Linked DNA regions of Homo sapiens: region 1 is linked to region 2. Evidence: promoter capture Hi-C in 16 types of primary human blood cells and fetal thymus (Javierre and others, 2016). All regions are on one chromosome and are shown on one strand. The core of a region is centred on a gene start or on the middle of the fragment in contact, and the rest is flanking DNA. Distances in the headings are between cores, read along the strand shown.

Region 1 (4,381 bases), core at 255-2,754, 130 kb after region 2:
AAGGAAACTGAGGATCAGAGAGGTTACGTATCCTGGCCAAGGTCACAGAGTTAGTGAGCTGTCTATACAAGCCACATGGAGTGAGGTTCTGGAGATGGAAGTTGGGGTTAGTCAGAACAGATGCCTTAAAATGTCCTTGTCAAAGTTGCCTCTTCTATGCAAAATGATAATTCTGAAATCAGCAACCTAAAAAACAGCAGCCATCTATTATGACCTCACCACTGTGCTATGTGTTTTATAAATGAAAAGCCCAATCCTAACAAACCCTTTAAAGTAGGGACTTTAACCACCCATTTTATAGATTAAGAAATTAAGGTCTGGAAAGTAACTTCCCCTAGCTAGTGAGATCTGAAGCCAGGATCTTAGCTGTCTGACTCCAGGACCCATGCTTTTTTCATTTCACTGTAGTGACTATGTGTGAGTGAGAAATTCCAACATCATCACAATCAGAAAAATAGTGGCTCTGTCTACTCTGATGGTTTATGCTTGTGCTAACACAGGCTGTCCTCCTAGTGGGGAGAAGTCTTTGGCACAAGTAATTAATTTACATTAATGCTTAGCTCTCACTCCTATGTAGTATTCATATTTGACACAGTACAATTTTTCTCATTTTCAAACACAGATTATTCACACCATACATATGTAGCAGATAATTCAATAATAAATTGACTGTGATCAAACATTTGGCAAAAGCTTGAGAAGTCAAATAGTTTTTAAAAAGTCTGATATATCCTTAGACTTCCAAATTGTCTCCATTTTAAGGTTAGAGCATCTAAAAGCAAACCCAAGTACCTGTTTTATAATATTATAGCCCCCTACAGAAATGCCTCCACAAGTTAGGGCACTTTAGAAACTATAGTGAACCATCTGAATGGTTTTCTAAAACTATCCTTGAGGACATAGATTATTGTGTTAATCAAGGTTCCCTGATCCTTTTGTTTAATAACAGAAAAGAGGCACTACCTTTTCCTTTTCACTCGTGCATAGATTATTGTGTTAATCAAGGTTCCCTGATCCTTTTGTTTAATAACAGAAAAGAGGCACTACCTTTTCCTTTTCACTCGTGCTAACATGAAAATATAAGAGCAAGCATTAAGGCCTAATTGTATAAAAGCTGTATCATGTCTCATGTGGTAAAAACACACAGTCCCTGTTATCCCAGATGTTCTCTGAAAGTTTCTATACCTAATTATCCTATTTACATTTTAAACATTGTTGTTGCTTTCTTTTTCAAGTAGGTGAAGTTAGAAATAAAAAATAAATATTAAACTTTGATATATTTATTAATTCAGAAGTTGGTCAATCTAAAGTTCAATAATCTATGAAAAATTACCAAATTCACAGTACTCAACAATAAAAAAGAACCAGAGAAGTAAAGACCTCTAATGAAATGTGATTGGTACATCTGCCCTGAAGAGAGCTTTTTGAAAGGAAGGAAAGGAGGGAGGGAAAAAGGAAAGTTGAAGGCTGCAGACATTTCTAAGTGGATAGACTAAGTAGGAGAAAAGTTAATTACCAAATGGTTAAAGTCAAAGTGTAATACTGGGACCTGGAGACCTGGGAGACTTCTGGATTAAACAGATGAACTTACGTCTGCTCTCCCCTCCTTCTGAATCACCATAAAATGATAGCCCACAGTGCCTGGGCCTTGGAGAACCCCAGGAGATAGAGCCTAGGACCTCAGAACGGCTGCAGAAGGGCAGAAGACACTCCTTGACCCCTCTCTATCCTTCAAAGTCCCATCCCCTCTCTCATCCAGTGGAAGACACAAGACTTCCTATCAAGTGAGACTGAACTACAGGCAGCACCAGGGGCAGTAACACAATAATGAAAACGCCTTTCCACTAAAAGAGGAATTAGGAGGAAACAGAGACAAAGCAGAGATCAGAAGAAAAGTACAGAGGGATAATACTGCATTCATGAAATAAAGTACAGAATGCTATTTTCTAAAAGGAGGTGGGAACATTCAGAGAATAAAAAAGAGCTCTTGGATACTAAACTTATGATTGCTGACATTCAATAGAAGAATTGGGAAATACAGTTGAGAAAATCTCAAAATAGACAGAAGAACCCAAACAAACAAGGAGACACAAAAATAGGGGGAAAACATACAACAAATGGTAAGTCCAGAAAATGCAACAGAGGGCCAGAAATAAAGATAGAACATGGAGAAAAGATAATTCTCAAAGAAATAATTCAAGGATTTCACAGAACTGAAGAACAGGTGTCTGCAAGTGTTAAGTCCCTCTGATCGAGGAGACCACAAAGGCATATCATTGTGAAATGTCAGACACCAGGGATAAAGAGAAGACTGTGAAAGCTTCCAGAGAGAATGAACAGACCCCGTGTAAAGGATCAGGGGTCAGGCTGGCATTAGGCTCTCAACAGCAATGTTAGAGGCAATGGGTAATGTCTTCCAAATTTGGAGGGCAGATGGGCATAAAGATGTCTGCAGATATGCAAGATTCCAAACTATCTCTCATGAACCTGCCAAGATAAAGGAGGGGGTTACAAGAAAGGGGTGGTAAACGAGAAGCCAAGTGAATTCCCAAGAAGTTGGGAAGTGAGGACAGAAACCCTGCAGCCAGTCTGGAGGTGAACTGCCCAAATGGGAAGGGAACACCACAGTTCCAGAAATACCCTCTCCAAGGAAAACAACACAACACACTGAGAGGCTGTCTGGTGTGTTTAAGCACACTATGTTTAGGAAAGAATCAATGATAGGTACACAGAAACCAAACAAAGAAAAAACAAGGCCGTTTTCAACTCAATTATGCTTAAGGAAACATAATCATGGCACACTACGTACTTATCTACAAATACAATGTGCATAATAATACAACCACTACATTGTATTATTGTATAATAATTGTATAATAATACAATATACTAATTGTATAACAATACAATCACTGATTTAACCAAAAGTTGTGATGTGAAATTACACTGGCAAGATGGAACATAAAAACATTCATATTTTATAGTAGAGAGTCAATAAAACTGAAAGACATAGTATTTAGAAATATAGAGGTAAACAGCAGAAAAAGGGCTAAAAATTTGAGTCATATACTCTAGGAAATTGGGAAAGGGCAGAGACCCATTCTTTTGTTATTACTCTTAAAGGAATATTTGACCTTTAAAATTATTTATATGAATTACTTTTATAAAAACAAAATATGATTAGATAAAAAAGCTGAATTTGCTTGGTCAACTGTAAGTGAAAAAAATGAGTAAAATGTAGTTTTTAAATTATGCCAGGTACTAAGACTGATACTCAATTTGTGCCTATAAACCAAAAATAAAATTCTAAGCTCCCCATCTGACTGAGGGTCCTTCACTCAGCCAAGGGCATTCCAAAGCTAACCTGAAAAACTAGTTCAGGCCATGATGGGACATGGGGGGTTGAACATGCCTCATTATACCCTCCTCCCTTTGGAATTCAGGCCCAGCTGACCAGCATTAACATCAAAACAGAGACCTTAAGACTGACAGAAATGATAGGAAACATTTACAATCTATTATTTCTGAAGCCCACTATCTGGAGGCTTCATCTGCATGATAAAACCCTGGTCTCAACAATCACTTAATCTTAACCCAGACAGTCCCTTCTACTGATTTTCATGTTTTTAGATAATAACTCTTTCAACCAATTGCCAGTCAGAAAATCTTTTAATCCACCTATGACCTGGAAGCCAGAGGCTTTCCAAATCACACTAAAATGACAGTCCACAGTGCCTGAACCTCAGAGAACCTTTTGGACTAAACCAGTGTACATCTTGTATGTATTGATTGATGTCTTTTTTCTTTTTTTTTCTTTTTTTTTTTTTTTTTTGAGACAGAGTCTTGCTCTTGTCACCCAGGCTGGAGTGCAGTGGTGTGATCTCAGCTCACTGCAACCTTCGCCTCCTGGGTTTAAGTAATTCTCCTGCCTCAGCCTCCCGAGTAGCTGGGACTACAGGTGCGTGCCACCACCCCCAGCTAATTTTTTGTATTTTCAGTAGAGACAGGGTTTCGCCGTGTTAGCCAGGATGGTCTTGATCTCCTGACCTCGTGATCCGCCTGCCTTGGCCTCCCAAAGTGCTGGGATTATAGGTGTGAGCCACCGCCCCCAGCCAATTGATGTCTTATGTCTCCCTATAATGTATAAAACCAAGCTGTAGCCCAACTACCTTGGGCACATGTTCTCAGGATCTCCTGGGGCTGTGTCATGAGCCATTGGTCACTCATATTTGGCTCAGAATAAGTCTCTTCAAATACTTCACAGAGTTTGACTCTTTTCATTGACATGCCTTTAGAGAACCATGGGATCTCAGGATTGGAAGTGCCTGAACAATCATCTAATATGCCACCTGCTCCCCAGTGTGACACCTGCTATGTGAAC
Region 2 (4,672 bases), core at 1,185-3,684:
TTGTTATTTTCATTCAGTTATATCCTTTGGCTCAGCTAGCTTTGAAATTGGCTGATGAAAAAATATACATAAAAGGGTAAAATTCACACATACAGCAAACAAAAATGCACAAAGCCTGCTTCGTAACTTTTTTTTCTGGAATTGTTTTTCACTTTGCCTTTTTCTGCCAAAACAATAATCAAAGAACTCTTGCTTTAACCTATTCCTGTACAAAGACTGTTTTTGACCAGATAATCATCTGTTGTGGCATTCTATCTTGTAGGACACTGTATATTGCAAATTGCTGATTATGGAAGGGGCCAGTTGCTGTTTTTTCATGCAGTGCCCTGGGAGTCTTAAAAGCAGTGCTTAGCAACATTGGTGATAGCATGTGGCTGGGACCCAGGGCCCTTCCCCACTCTTCAGCCCCGAGTCATGTGTCTGAGGTGACGGACTGAGACGCATCTGGTCCTGTAATTCAGAGAGTGGGCACATCACCAAAGAACTGCATTGCTGTGGTCACTGTTTCTTCAAGTACACACTGACTCTGCTACTTTAGGATAAATATATTTTACTCAGAACTCTGAATTTCACAGTATACTTACTAAACTAAGTAAAAATGATACTTAAAATACTTATTTTACTTTCTAGACCTAGGCTAGATGTTTTAAGCTACAGCTCTAGTTCATTGTGATATTTATAATTTGAAAGCTATGAGAATAGATGTGTGGGTGAAGCCATAGAACATATTTGCTTGAAATTCTTGAGCAGGGATCTTATAAAGGGCCAGAAATAAGATGTGTGGTTCACATAGATAGTGAGCGTAACATCTGTATTAAACATAGGAGAGAAGTTTATAAAGGGCATTGGCAATAAACTCTTTGTTGCAGCTGTTTTCCAAGCAGTGTAAATACTTTTTCCTGTGATTATGTATAGCCTTGGAATGGCACCTTTTAACTAACCCATATGTGTTTGGTTTCAATGGTTTTTTATATTCAGATGTATATATGGTGCTCACTTTAGGATCAGCAGTGTTGACCATTTATGCTGCATAGCTGTATTATAGCCTTATTAGTTGTGTGGTTGACCCTTGGGGTATACAAATGTCAGTCTGAGTGGTGTCTTACTCCTTTGTTTATAAGTGAATGATTGTGCATGTTTTGTATGTCATAGTATGTCGTCACATAAAAGGGAGGGAGCGAAAAACCATTACATTAAGATAATATTGGACCAAACTACTTACTTGCTCTAAACAGTTACTTGTACCCCTTAACCTGTCTTCAAAAGTTGCATATAGTTACAGTAGTGTATAAATTAAATATTGTGGAAAAACAGTCTTGTATTTTTCTGTATGTGTGTATATATATATAATTATGTACTTCTGGCAATTCTATCTGTATTTAAAGATGTGACAATCTTGACACCAATTTTAAGAATAGCTGTGAGACCGAATTAAAGATAATCCCTACCAAGTGAAAATTGATGTGTGTTAAGAGGGTACAGAATTATCAACTGATTTGGTCAGTTGCTTCCAATGCTGGTTGATTTCCCTCATTGTGTAAACATTGACAGGTATGTGACAAATGGGAAAAAAAATCCAAATAATAAAGTGACATATTGGTGTTCAGCAATATAAACCGTGTCCTGTGTTGTATTGCTTCTCATGAGTGTAGCTTTGTGTGATCCCACCTCAGTTAGACCCAGCCTTCTCCATGCCCTGTGCCTGCACCACCAGATTTGGCTGAAAAAGTACAGTCATTATTATGTTTAAACTCATGGCTACAAATCATAGGTGGGGCCAGGGTGCCCATTAAGTATACTTACTTTATTTCTCTATTTCATCTCCTTTCCTCACTCTGCTGGTCACCATGCTGCCTAATTGAATAAAGGGAAGCAATGAGAACTGCCACAAGTTCCCACCTCTGCCTTCCTCCCTTCCTTCATACACATTCACATGCTCTGCCCTTCCTCCTGTTACTGTGATTCCAAGGTCAGCTACTCTTACTCAGTTCTCACAACCATTACCATAATTGACTTTTACAACCCCCCCCCGCCCGCCAAAGAAATCTTGTGCCCTTTGGCATACTTTACCTTGTCCGCAACTCCCTTTACTCCAGCCTCATGCAACCACTTCCTGTGATCAATTTTCAATCCCATGTTAGAATTTGATGAATTGCTCACTTTCTTCCTTATGAACTTCCCATCTTTCAGTATCTCACTTCTGCCTTGCTGCTCTTCATGTCCACTGGTCCTTCCTCATTCTTCCAACCTCTAAATTTGGAATGTCCCAATGTTCAATTCTGGACCCCTGCTCTATCTGCAGTGACTCCTGATCTCAGTTAGTCTAGTATCTATATGCTGATAGAAGCCCAAAATATATTTAGCCCACATACCCTGGGAACACTGGATTTCAACTATCTATTTGACTTTTCTTCTTGGATGTGTCTGTGTGTCTACAGCATCTCAATTTTTACAAGTTCAAAACCCCTAATCTTTCCCCTCAAATCCTTTTACTAGCGCACCCATCTTAATAAATATCAACTCCTAGCCTTCAATAGTTTCATTCAAGCTGAAAATCTTGGTGTCATCCACTTTTTCATCCCAACATTCAGTTTATGAGCAAATCTTAACTTGCCTTTCACAGTTGACTCCTTCTCATTGCCACCACCACTACCACTCTAGTCCATGACACTCAACTGTAAATGCCTCTTAAAGGGTTTCCCTGCATTTGCCCTTGTCTTTCTCATTTATTTTCCACTTAGCAGTATGAGAGATCATTTTAAAGGCTAAATCATACCATGTTTTGAAACGTGTTTAGTTTCCAAATATTTGGGGTTTTCCCACATAGGTTTCTATAATTTTTAGTTTAATTCTATTTTTATCAGTGCATGCTTTCTATAGTTTAAATCTTTTGAAATTACTGAAACTTGTTTTATGGCCCAACATACGACCTATCTTGGTGAATGTTTCCTGAGTGCTTGGAAAGTGCTATTGGTGGAGTGTCCTATACATGTCAGTTCGTTCAAGTTGGTTGATAATGTTCAAGTTTTCTATATTCTTACTGATTTTCTGTCTCAATTATTGAGAGAGGAGTGTTGAAATCTCCAACTATAGTTGTGGATTTGTCTATTTCTCCTTTTAGTTCTAGCAGTGTTATTTTAGAAAATTTGAAGCTCTGTTGTTTGGTACATAAGCATTTAAGATTGTTACGTCATATCAATGAATTGATCCCTTTCCTCATGAAATGTTCCTTCTTTATGACTGGTAAACTATTTGTTCTGAAATCTACTTTGTGTGATAGTGATACAGTAACTCCAGCTTTTTTTTGACTTGTGAGAATATATCTTTTTCCATTCTTTACTGTTAACCTATTGTGTCTTTATGTTTAAAGTTTGTTTTTTGCAGATATCATATAGTTCGAGCTTGCTTTCTTATCCCATCAGCAAATGTCTGTCTTTGATTGAGGGTTTAGATGTATTACATTTAGTGTAATTGTCAATATGGTTGAGTTTAAACCTACCTAGTTTTCTATTTGTCTCGTCTGTTCTTTTTCCCTCTTTTGCTACCTTGTTTTGGTTTAACTGAGCACCTTTTGTTACTCCATTTTATCTCCGCTATTGGCTTATTGGCTGTAACTCTTGTTTTTCAGGGGGTGCTATAAGATTTGCAATACATGTATTTTATTATATCACAGTCTATCTTAATATATCACTTCATGTAGAATATAAAAACCTTACAACTGTATGCCTCTATTTTCCTCTTCCTGTTCCTTATACTACTGTTGTCATACATTTTATTTTTGTATATGTATAAATATTGTTTTAACTAGTTTTTAAGGGATTAAACAGGGGGGGGGGGAGTATTTTAGCTACATATTTGTCATTTGCAGCACTCTTCATTTCTTTGTGTAGATCCACAGTTTGGTTTTCCTTCTGCCTGTAGAACATTCTTTAACATTTCATATAATGCAGATCTGCTGGCATTACATTCTGTCAGCTTTTGTTTTGAAAAATTACTTTTCCTTTATGAAAGATATTATCATTGGGTATAAAAATTCTTGATTCATTTTTATTGCAATGCTGGACACTGAATTTTGCATTGTTGAATGCTGGAATTTTTTGTATTCGTGTGAGAAGTATTGGATTTCATTTTGGACTGCAGTTATTTAAAATCATTGGATCCTTCATGTCTCACTTTTAAACTGTTAGGGCAGATCCTGAGCAGTCTTCAGTCTAGGGCTAATTTGGCCCACTACTGAGGCAATACCTCTCTAGGGACTCTATTGAGGCTTTTCTACTCTGGCTGGTAGGAACATGAACTATTACCAGCCTTGGGTAAGTTCTGAGCATTGTTCAGCCTGCTGCTTTCCAGTGGTTCTTTCTCCAGCCTCAGGTAGTTTTCTCATAAGTACTGATCAGTACTCAACCAAAGACCACAGATTTTCTTTTGGAGCTTGCTCACTATCTGTGCAGCTCCCTCCTCTCTGCCCTGCACATTGATCTTGAACTTCAAACTACCTGCTCAACTCAACCAGACTATTTGGGCTTTCCCTCTCTGTGTTCTGGCAACTGCCTTTGGGCAGTGAGCTGGGGCATTCAACTCAGGGCTCACCTCATTTGCCTCCCTTCTCTCGGGGTGACAGCCCTATGCTGTCTGTTGCTCAATGTCTGGAAACTATTGCTCCATATATTTT

Evidence for each region. Contacts are between HindIII fragments. The CHiCAGO score rates a contact against its expected background, and 5 or more counts as called.
Region 1: a contact is called between a fragment that was not itself captured here and the fragment with the promoter of SNRK-AS1 in region 2, in 4 of 17 cell types (total CD8 T cells, naive CD8 T cells, naive CD4 T cells and 1 more). The highest score is 11.8, in total CD8 T cells.

The regions. Positions count from the first base shown.
Region 1 is chr3:43,478,114-43,482,494 of GRCh38, forward strand. All of the region lies in intron 11 of ANO10 (anoctamin 10), which reads right to left. Among named protein-coding and RNA genes, the nearest start is that of SNRK-AS1, 130 kb to the left of the region's middle. RefSeq lists an enhancer at 634-1,206. The HindIII fragment of the contact is 1,627 bases long and covers 692-2,318 here.
Region 2 is chr3:43,349,528-43,354,199 of GRCh38, forward strand. It overlaps SNRK-AS1 (SNRK antisense RNA 1), which reads right to left and starts at 2,435. Exons shown (of 3, transcript NR_046757.1): 1 at 2,071-2,435; 2 at 1,804-1,854; 3 at 1-450. It overlaps SNRK (SNF related kinase), which reads left to right. Exons shown (of 7, transcript NM_017719.5): 7 at 1-1,616. The HindIII fragment of the contact is 8,620 bases long and covers 1-4,672 here.